Linked DNA regions of Homo sapiens: region 1 is linked to region 2. Evidence: promoter capture Hi-C in 16 types of primary human blood cells and fetal thymus (Javierre and others, 2016). All regions are on one chromosome and are shown on one strand. The core of a region is centred on a gene start or on the middle of the fragment in contact, and the rest is flanking DNA. Distances in the headings are between cores, read along the strand shown.

The links. The method cuts DNA at HindIII sites, captures the fragments that hold promoters and counts their contacts. A CHiCAGO score of 5 or more calls a contact.
Region 1: a contact is called between a fragment that was not itself captured here and the fragment with the promoter of ACBD3-AS1 in region 2, in 1 of 17 cell types (neutrophils). The highest score is 5.1, in neutrophils.

What each region holds. Positions count from the first base shown.
Region 1 is chr1:225,484,954-225,488,977 of GRCh38, reverse strand. ENAH (ENAH actin regulator) reads left to right here. Exons shown (of 14, transcript NM_018212.6): 14 at 1-2,149. It overlaps LOC124904526 (a long non-coding RNA gene), which reads right to left. Exons shown (of 2, transcript XR_007066903.1): 2 at 2,144-2,424. Among named protein-coding and RNA genes, the nearest start is that of LINC02765, 19 kb to the right of the region's middle. The HindIII fragment of the contact is 688 bases long and covers 910-1,597 here.
Region 2 is chr1:226,145,601-226,149,691 of GRCh38, reverse strand. ACBD3-AS1 (ACBD3 antisense RNA 1) reads right to left here and starts at 1,689. Exons shown (of 2, transcript NR_146443.1): 1 at 1,624-1,689. It overlaps ACBD3 (acyl-CoA binding domain containing 3), which reads left to right. Exons shown (of 8, transcript NM_022735.4): 8 at 2,871-4,091. The coding sequence ends at 3,082. It also overlaps the pseudogene LOC124904586. The HindIII fragment of the contact is 12,330 bases long and covers 789-4,091 here.

The DNA.
Region 1 (4,024 bases), core at 4-2,503, 660 kb after region 2:
CTTCCATCTTATCCATCTATATCCATGTAGTCATTCCTTCCGAGTTCCCTGGTTTTAATCCAAAAGACTCTGTTTAACAGCAATGTCTTGGCAGACCAGGTGCCGCTTCCGTGCCATTTGAGGGCTCTGAGTCTTTGCTTCGTCTTAGGAAGATAAAGATAATTTGGCAGAAAGTCAGAGATGGAAATAGCAGTTTGGGATGATAAAAGATGGGTCCTGTTTTGCTGACATTCTTTTACTTTGGTTCTTGGTGCGTGTCCTTTGGGATTCATTTCTTGCTAGCATGAATAGGACATGCTTTTCGTTAGGTGCTTTTCTTTTTTGGAGAACATGAAGTGTTTCTAACAAAACTGAATGAGCTAGAAAGAATTCTATTTTGAGACATCTGTAGTTGATGCAAAGTATTTCTGTAATCCTCAATGACAGTACTTACATATTTGCATAGAATTTTTTTTTTAATTTTTGAGGAAACCTCTCTGGAGTCTGTATTTATAGGAGCATCCTGAAAGTCCCTATTATGTAGCTGGTGGGAGCGAGAGAGGGACAGCCACACTCGTGCTGTGAGCAGAGCACAACTTCAGGCAGAGTGAATGCCTTCTGAGTTCTCATTGGAAGCTTTCTGTTGCTCAGCCTCTGGCAGATTTCAGAACCTTCTACTTAAGCCAGGTGTGGTGGTGCGTGCTCCTAGGCACAGCGACTCGGGGGGCTGAGGCAGAAGGATCACTTGAGCCCAAAGTTGGAGGCCAGCCTGGGCAACATAGCGAGGCCTGTCTCCTTAAAAAATAAATAAATAAATAATAAATAAATAAATAAATAAAAACCTTGTCCTTGACTATTGTGCTGTCTGCTGCCCCTTTGTAGGGATGGGGTTGGGGTCAGAATAAGCATGTGCATGAATGGCGGAAAGCTTTGGTGGTGTTTGTTTGTTTGTTTGTTTTTTGAGAGGTGGGGGAGTCAGCAGTGAACCTTTCTGGTTAAAGAACAACGTACATAATTTCTATTATGAGATTTAGAAGGTTAAATACTTTTTTTTTTCAGGCCTACCAAGTTGATAGACCAAAAGTATATAGTAGAACAGCACAGTAGAAAAAATTTAAAAGTGAATTTCTTATGGTCCAAAAGGATGGATAGTCACAGTCCATAACCTTTCATAATATATGCTGGAATTGGAATCTCTTGTCATCTTGCTTTGCTCTGAATTTTAGAACTAGAAGTGTGCATGTATGTCAAAAGATTATGCAGAGCTATTTTCTTTGCTAACAATGTAAACATTTGCACCCCATGAATGGGACTTTATAATCTGGAAGTGAGCCTAAGGTTGCGTATACTGAAGTCATGTTTTAAAAGTTAAGGTTGACTTAAACATATACAAGGCTGTATTTTAATTGTAACTAGAAATCATTTACTATGCATACAGAACCTCATGTATCTTATCATGGAATTTGTGAATTAATGGGCCTTGCCGAATTCAAGGGTAAGGGAAACTGGTAACAACTTGTTTTAAATCAACATACTATAAGCTCCTGCTTGCTTGACTCAAGTTGTTTGAAAATCTGAATTAAACAGGATCTCATTGTCAGGAAACATCTTCTAAGCTTGACATCTACGTTTAAGAAGGGAACGTGGAAGAGAAGGTGAGACATGAAACTAAAACAGCTGGGAGGGTAGGATCAGACTGCACCTGATTTTTGGACCAAAGTTTCATATAGGAATAAATAAAAAGGAGGACCACTTGTGAGCCAACCTAGGAAGGACTTGCCAGAAAGTAGCAGCTCCTGCTGCAAAATACAGTGCCTTCAAAATGATTCTCTGTGTGAATTGCATGCAATTTCATGTAACCATAAAGTGTAACCTGTATGTGCATGACATGTGTCTAGAATGTGTAAAGTTAGGATTCAGCAGGAAGGGGCCTGGCCCTGTCACTGTGGTGGATCAGTGGACCTGCTGAAGTCACTGGACTCATGTGACTTAGGTTTGCAGCATCAGACCCCTGTGTTTGCATTAAGTGGCCACATCGTTGAAATCGGATCAATCTCTCCCTCAGCTTTCTTTCCTACTTTGCAGCTTTGCTGGTTTTAACTGCTTCATTCTTCTGCTTCTTGGTATCCTTTTTTCTTTTGAAATAAAAACATGAAATACTTAATTCAAATGAGATTTGTATTTATTTTACCAGTTGCTCTTAATTTACCAAAGGTATACGACATGAAAAGAGTTGCATTCTTTTGTCTTGGTTGTGATTCTGACCTTAAAATACGCTCAGTTCTAAAAGCTTGAGGAGCGTTCTATACTGGTCCTTCTGCATTTCAGCCTGTCACCAAGGGGAGTGTTTTGCGATCCGCCATCCTTTCCCTGAATGCTGCTGCTCCTCTATGACGGAAAGCTTGGTGACCTCTTCATTGGAGGCGTCCAAAGCCAGTGAACAGCCTGTTGGTAAATGAACGAGCTGCATGTACGTGCTATTTTCCTCCAGGACCAAATGCCCTGTGCATTTTAGTATTAAGCGTACTTACTGCAGGAACCAGTACTGGGACCACTGCAAAACTACACAATGGTGCAAGTGCTTTGGGGCTTTGAAGAGCTGAAGACAGACATAAGACTTAGTGTTCTCAGGCCGGGCATGGTGGCTCATGTCTGTAATCCCAGCATTTTGGGAGGGGTGGGCGGATTGCTTGAGTCCAGGAGTTCAAGACCAGCCTGGGTGACATGACGAAATCCCGTCTCTACAAAAAAAAAAAAAAAAAAAAAAAAGGACTTGGTGTTCTCACTTTGTGACCATCCTGCCCCTCACTGGAGGTCCCTAGAGGCAGGTGCCTTTCAGCTAAGAATATCTGGGAGTCTGTGGTTTGTGAGGAGCTTGCTGGCACATTAGTGTAAAGGGTGTGATCCTTTTAATGGCCACACTTTTCTGTATGATGTCTTTGTTTTCATTCTCTGATGTCAGGGAGGTGAAAAGAAGGCTCAGGTGAAAAGAAGGTTCATCAACTGAACCAGAGTAACTTGTCACCTCCTTTTTTGCCAGCCTCATTTCTAAATAGACTGAATGTCTGTTACCTCTCCTCTCCTTTTCAACTGAGAAGCCCTTGGTGTACAGCGGAAAGGGGCTGTAGGGGAATGCATTTTGCCACTGCAGTCATGAGCTGACCCAGCCTTCTGTATTCTTGGATGTTTTCATTCTAGGCTGAATCCCATTGTGTTATGGCAAAGAGGCCAGACCCTAAGAGACTATATGCTGAAAAGATTTGTGAAGCCCCTCAGTTCCCAGTAACTTTTGGAGCTTATTGTCATGAGATTGCTACCCTAGCCCTGGGCAGTGTGGGCAAGGACACCGTGGCACCTGGGCACTGAGTCCGGGAGTTGTATTTTAGCCTTCTCTCCTCTCAGCTGTAAAGTGAGGTGTTTAGGTCTTCAAAGGTCATTCCAGCTCCAGCTTCTATGGTTTCAATATGCTGGGGGTATCTGGCTGAGGCTCCCCACCCAGGTGGCCCAGCTGACAGTGACAGTATCATAGAGTGCGAGATAGCCTCTGTCACCACACTGACAGCTGCAGACACTAGTATGGAGGGGTTATGTGGGTGAAGTTCAAGGCGTCTCTCTGTGAACAAGCTAGAAAGAACCACTCATTTGTCATTTCTCCTTGGCCACAGGCTCTCATGGCAAAGGCCTCTGACTGAGGAGTAACACAGCGTTGAACCAATTTTAATATTGCAAGGCCACTCCTGTGGGTAAAGGCATTGGAGATGTATGCTTCAAAGCATTTTTAAAAGTCACCTGGGATATGACAGTGATGTCTATCCTTGGATGATTATAGCTCTTAAGTCATCACTCCCGACCCCCAAGACAAAAACGAGTCTGAGAAGCCAGGAAGCTGGTTTGCAAAAAATGTGTCGCGTTGAGTTGGGCCTTTCCTGCCACAGCTCCTGCCGCTGGGTGAAGTGTTGGAACCCTACAGACAGGTCCTGTCGCAGCCAGCTGGGAAGCCGAGGTGAGCAGGCCTCCTGGGACAGATGGGGCCCCACTGATGAGG
Region 2 (4,091 bases), core at 440-2,939:
GTGTGCACCTGTAGTCCCAGCTACTTGGGAGGCTGAGGTGGGAAAATTGCTTGAGCCCAGGAGGTAGAGGTTGCAGTGAGCTGAGATCAAGTCACTTCACTCCAGCCTGGGCCACAGAGCCAGACCCCATCTCAAAAAAAAAAAAAAAAAAAAAAAAAAAAAGATGGCTGGGCGCAGTGGCTGACACCTGTAATCCCAGCACTTTGGGAGCCTGAGGTGGGTGAATCACCTGAGGTCAGGAGTTCAAGACCAGCCTGGCCAACATGGTGAAACCCCATCTCTACTAAAAGTACAAAAATTAGCCAGGCATGGTGGCACATGCCTGTAATCCCAGCTACTTGGGAGACTGAGGCAGGAGAATCGCTTGAACCCGGGAGGTGGAGATTGCAGTGAGCTGAGATCGTGCCATTGCACTCCAGCCTGGGCGACAGAGCCAGACTCCGTCTCAAAAAAAAAAAAAAATGAAAGAGCTTTGTGAATAAGAATTCTCTGTTCAGAAGTTGGTTGAGGTAATGTATTTCTCCTGGCTTGCCTATTAGAGAGCTTCTAAAAGGTGGTTACTGCCTAGTCTGAACCCTCAGCTGATGATAGTTTTGGGGTTATATTGGTGTTGGGAAGATCACTAGTGAAAATGGCAGGGGTTCATTTCTAGAGGTAAGAACCTTAATATCCTTGATCTTAGTTCTAATATGTCCCTCAAATGAAAGATGGCATTCCCTGTACTTGTACCATTCCTAATCATAAAATGATTTGCAGCTAAAACATTTTAGCCTCACAGCAGTGAAGCTTTATCATTCCTAAGAATTGTTCATTACATGAGCGTCACTTCATCCCATTTAAAGATTTAGCTCACAAATTGTATTTGTCCATATGCCTTAGAAGCTACTGTCCTACCGTGTCTTGTATTTCATATGGTAGAAGAGTCTGAGTTTTTTGGGTTTTGGTTTGGTTTTTCTTCCTTAGGTCTTGAAAGGTAGACAGAGGAGTTTGCTTTCTCTGAAGAAGCATGGATGGTAACACATCCTCCTGTTTTAATTCTCCATTTTCTTCATTGTTTACAGGTCCTAAACCTTGGCTTAAATTCATAAAAGATGCCTTTTCATCTATCCCAGTAATCTTTAGTTTTATAGATTTAAAACAAAATTTGAGTCTTGAATCAATGGACCAGTCTATTTCTTGGATGTCAACAATAGTGTACATTTTGGATGGTTCTGTATTTCTCATTTGCATGTGAAACATGCTTAATTATAGGTATTTCTGTGGTTAAGTAAATCTGGTTTTGACCTACCTTTATAAGAGTGCCATCTGCTTTTTTAAAATAAACTTTTAATTTTAGAATAGTTTTAGATTTACAGAAAAGTTACAAAGATAGCACAAAGAGTACCCATATACCCTGCACCAAGTTCCCTCTGTTGTTAGCATCTTACATTGTACTGTGGTGCACTCATCACAGCTAATGAAACAATATTGATACATTGATTCATTAATTAACTAAAGTCCATATTTATTCAGATGTTTTTAGTTTTTACCTAATGTTCCAAGATCCTTTCCAGGATGCCACATTATAGTCAGTCATCATATCTCCTTAATCTGCTATAGACGGTGAGAATTTCTCAAACTTACCTTGTTTTAAATTCCTGATAGTGGCCATTGACAAGCATCACTCAGTGTGTTGCCAGAATTCACTCTGCCATGTTATAAACCTGAAAATCCATGCCTGTAGTCCCAGTCTCTTAAACAAACAAACAAACAAAAACAACAACCATAAACCCGAAAGTCTTGTCTTCTGTGCTGAATACTCCCTTGACCTCTTTGAGCTGGTTTGTATTAAATATGTTAAACTGTGACTTCGAAGCTGGTTCATAATTTTCTCATTCCTGTAGGTTTCTAGAGGCATTTTTTTTCCTAACCTCATAGCATTACAGTTCAAAAAACTCTTAACCGGGGCAAACCTTTCAGAGCCCATTTTTTGCCACTTAGATCATCTCTGGGTTAAATTGGCCTAGTGAAAATAATTGAATTTTCAGAGTATCTCTGAATGCCTATCTCTCTACTATGATTTTTTCATTTTACTGCTTATATTTAAGATATACAGAAAGCAATAGTCCTCACAAATCATCTTCCATCTTTCTAAAATGGGGAGGACTCATATTGGTCAGAAGGAGGATGATGAGAGCAACATTTTCATGTTACTCAGATGAGTGAAATTCCTGAGGATGAATTAGGAATTGAATGGCTATGGAAAGGGGAAAATGGGACCTTGAAATAGGAATGGTAGTAAGCACAGAAAGAGATAGGATGCTGACCACTGCTACCACTAGATGTTCATCACTGGGCTCCCAGGGCTCAGAACAGGGTTTGGTGTATAGCACATACTTAGGTATTTGAATGAATGAGTGAATGAATGAATGAATGAACGAACTAATAAATGCTCACATGCACATAACTTGTTAAATGGTTCAACAGAATTCCCAACAAGAGCAGTTTCTCAAAGAAAGGATAGGCTGGGCACGGTGGCTCACGCCTGTAATCCCAGCACTTTGGGAGGCCGAGGCAGGTGGGTCACAAGGTCAGGAGATTGAGACAATCCTGGCCAACATGGTGAAAGTCCATGTCTACTAAAAATACAAAAATTACCTGGATGTAGTGGTGCACGCCTGTAATCCCAGCTACTTGGGAAGCTGAGGCAGGAGAATCGCTTGCACCCAGGAGGTGGAGGTTGCAATGAGCTGAGATCACGCCGCTGCACTCCATCCTGGGTGACAGAGCAAGACTCTGTCTCCAGAAAAAAAAGAAAGGATAGATTTTAATTGCCTGATGCAAGTGTGGTTTTCCTGAATCTGTTCATTGACTTGTCTCTGTTCTTACAGAAAACATCGGTTGTGAAGAGAAAGCCAAAAAGAATGCCAACAAGCCTTTGCTGGATGAGATTGTGCCTGTGTACCGACGGGACTGTCATGAGGAGGTGTATGCTGGCAGCCATCAATATCCAGGGAGAGGAGTCTATCTCCTCAAGTTTGACAACTCCTACTCTTTGTGGCGGTCAAAATCAGTCTACTACAGAGTCTATTATACTAGATAAAAATGTTGTTACAAAGTCTGGAGTCTAGGGTTGGGCAGAAGATGACATTTAATTTGGAAATTTCTTTTTACTTTTGTGGAGCATTAGAGTCACAGTTTACCTTATTGATATTGGTCTGATGGTTTGTGAACTCTTGCTGGGAATCAAAATTTCCTTGAGACTCTTTAGCATTCATACTTTGGGGTTAAAGGAGATTCCTCAGACTCATCCAGCCCTTGGGTGCTGACCAGCAGAGTCACTAGTGGATGCTGAAGTTACATGAGCTACATGTTAAATATTTAAAGTCTCCAAAATAAAACACCCCAACGTTGACCTTACCCGGCTGATGGTTAGCCCCTTGCTGCCTGCTCCATGTGTCTTATGAGAGCCCGTAGTTACAGTGTCCTCTAATTTGAAATCCATAAGTTAACAAGTCTATATCAGGTGCAGCTGGCTTTGATTAAAGGCCATTTTTAAAACTTAAAAACTCAACACCTCACAGATTATAATAGAAAAAGAAATGGCCTCAGTTTGATCTCGTTCAGAATGACCCAGATTGTTTCTGCTTTGGGTGCAGCTGTTTAGTTCAGAGTTATATTACAGAGAATTATTTTCTGAGATAATCTTAAACTAGAATGTTCAAAACTAATTGATAATTGAAGTATCAAGATACGTAGAACACCTCAGAGATTTTTCTTCAGGAACTTCCACAAACTTTGAATCCTTGTATCTTTATTTGGTATTCATACTACTAGTAGCAAAATACAGGTTTTTTGTTTTGTTTTGTTTTGTTTTGGCTTCATAGAGTATCTCAAATTGAAACTTTTCTGCACAAAGAATAAAATTAAGGATTTTATAAACTCAAATTGGCACCTACTGAATTAAAATACATAAAATCATTTAAATATAATTCAGCATATGGGAAGTAACATTGCACTAATATGGAAATCACTGCCAGAGACAGTCTATTTTCTTTTAATTTGTTACTACTTAGTCACAAACCCCACATTATTCCAGTTTGGAATTACTT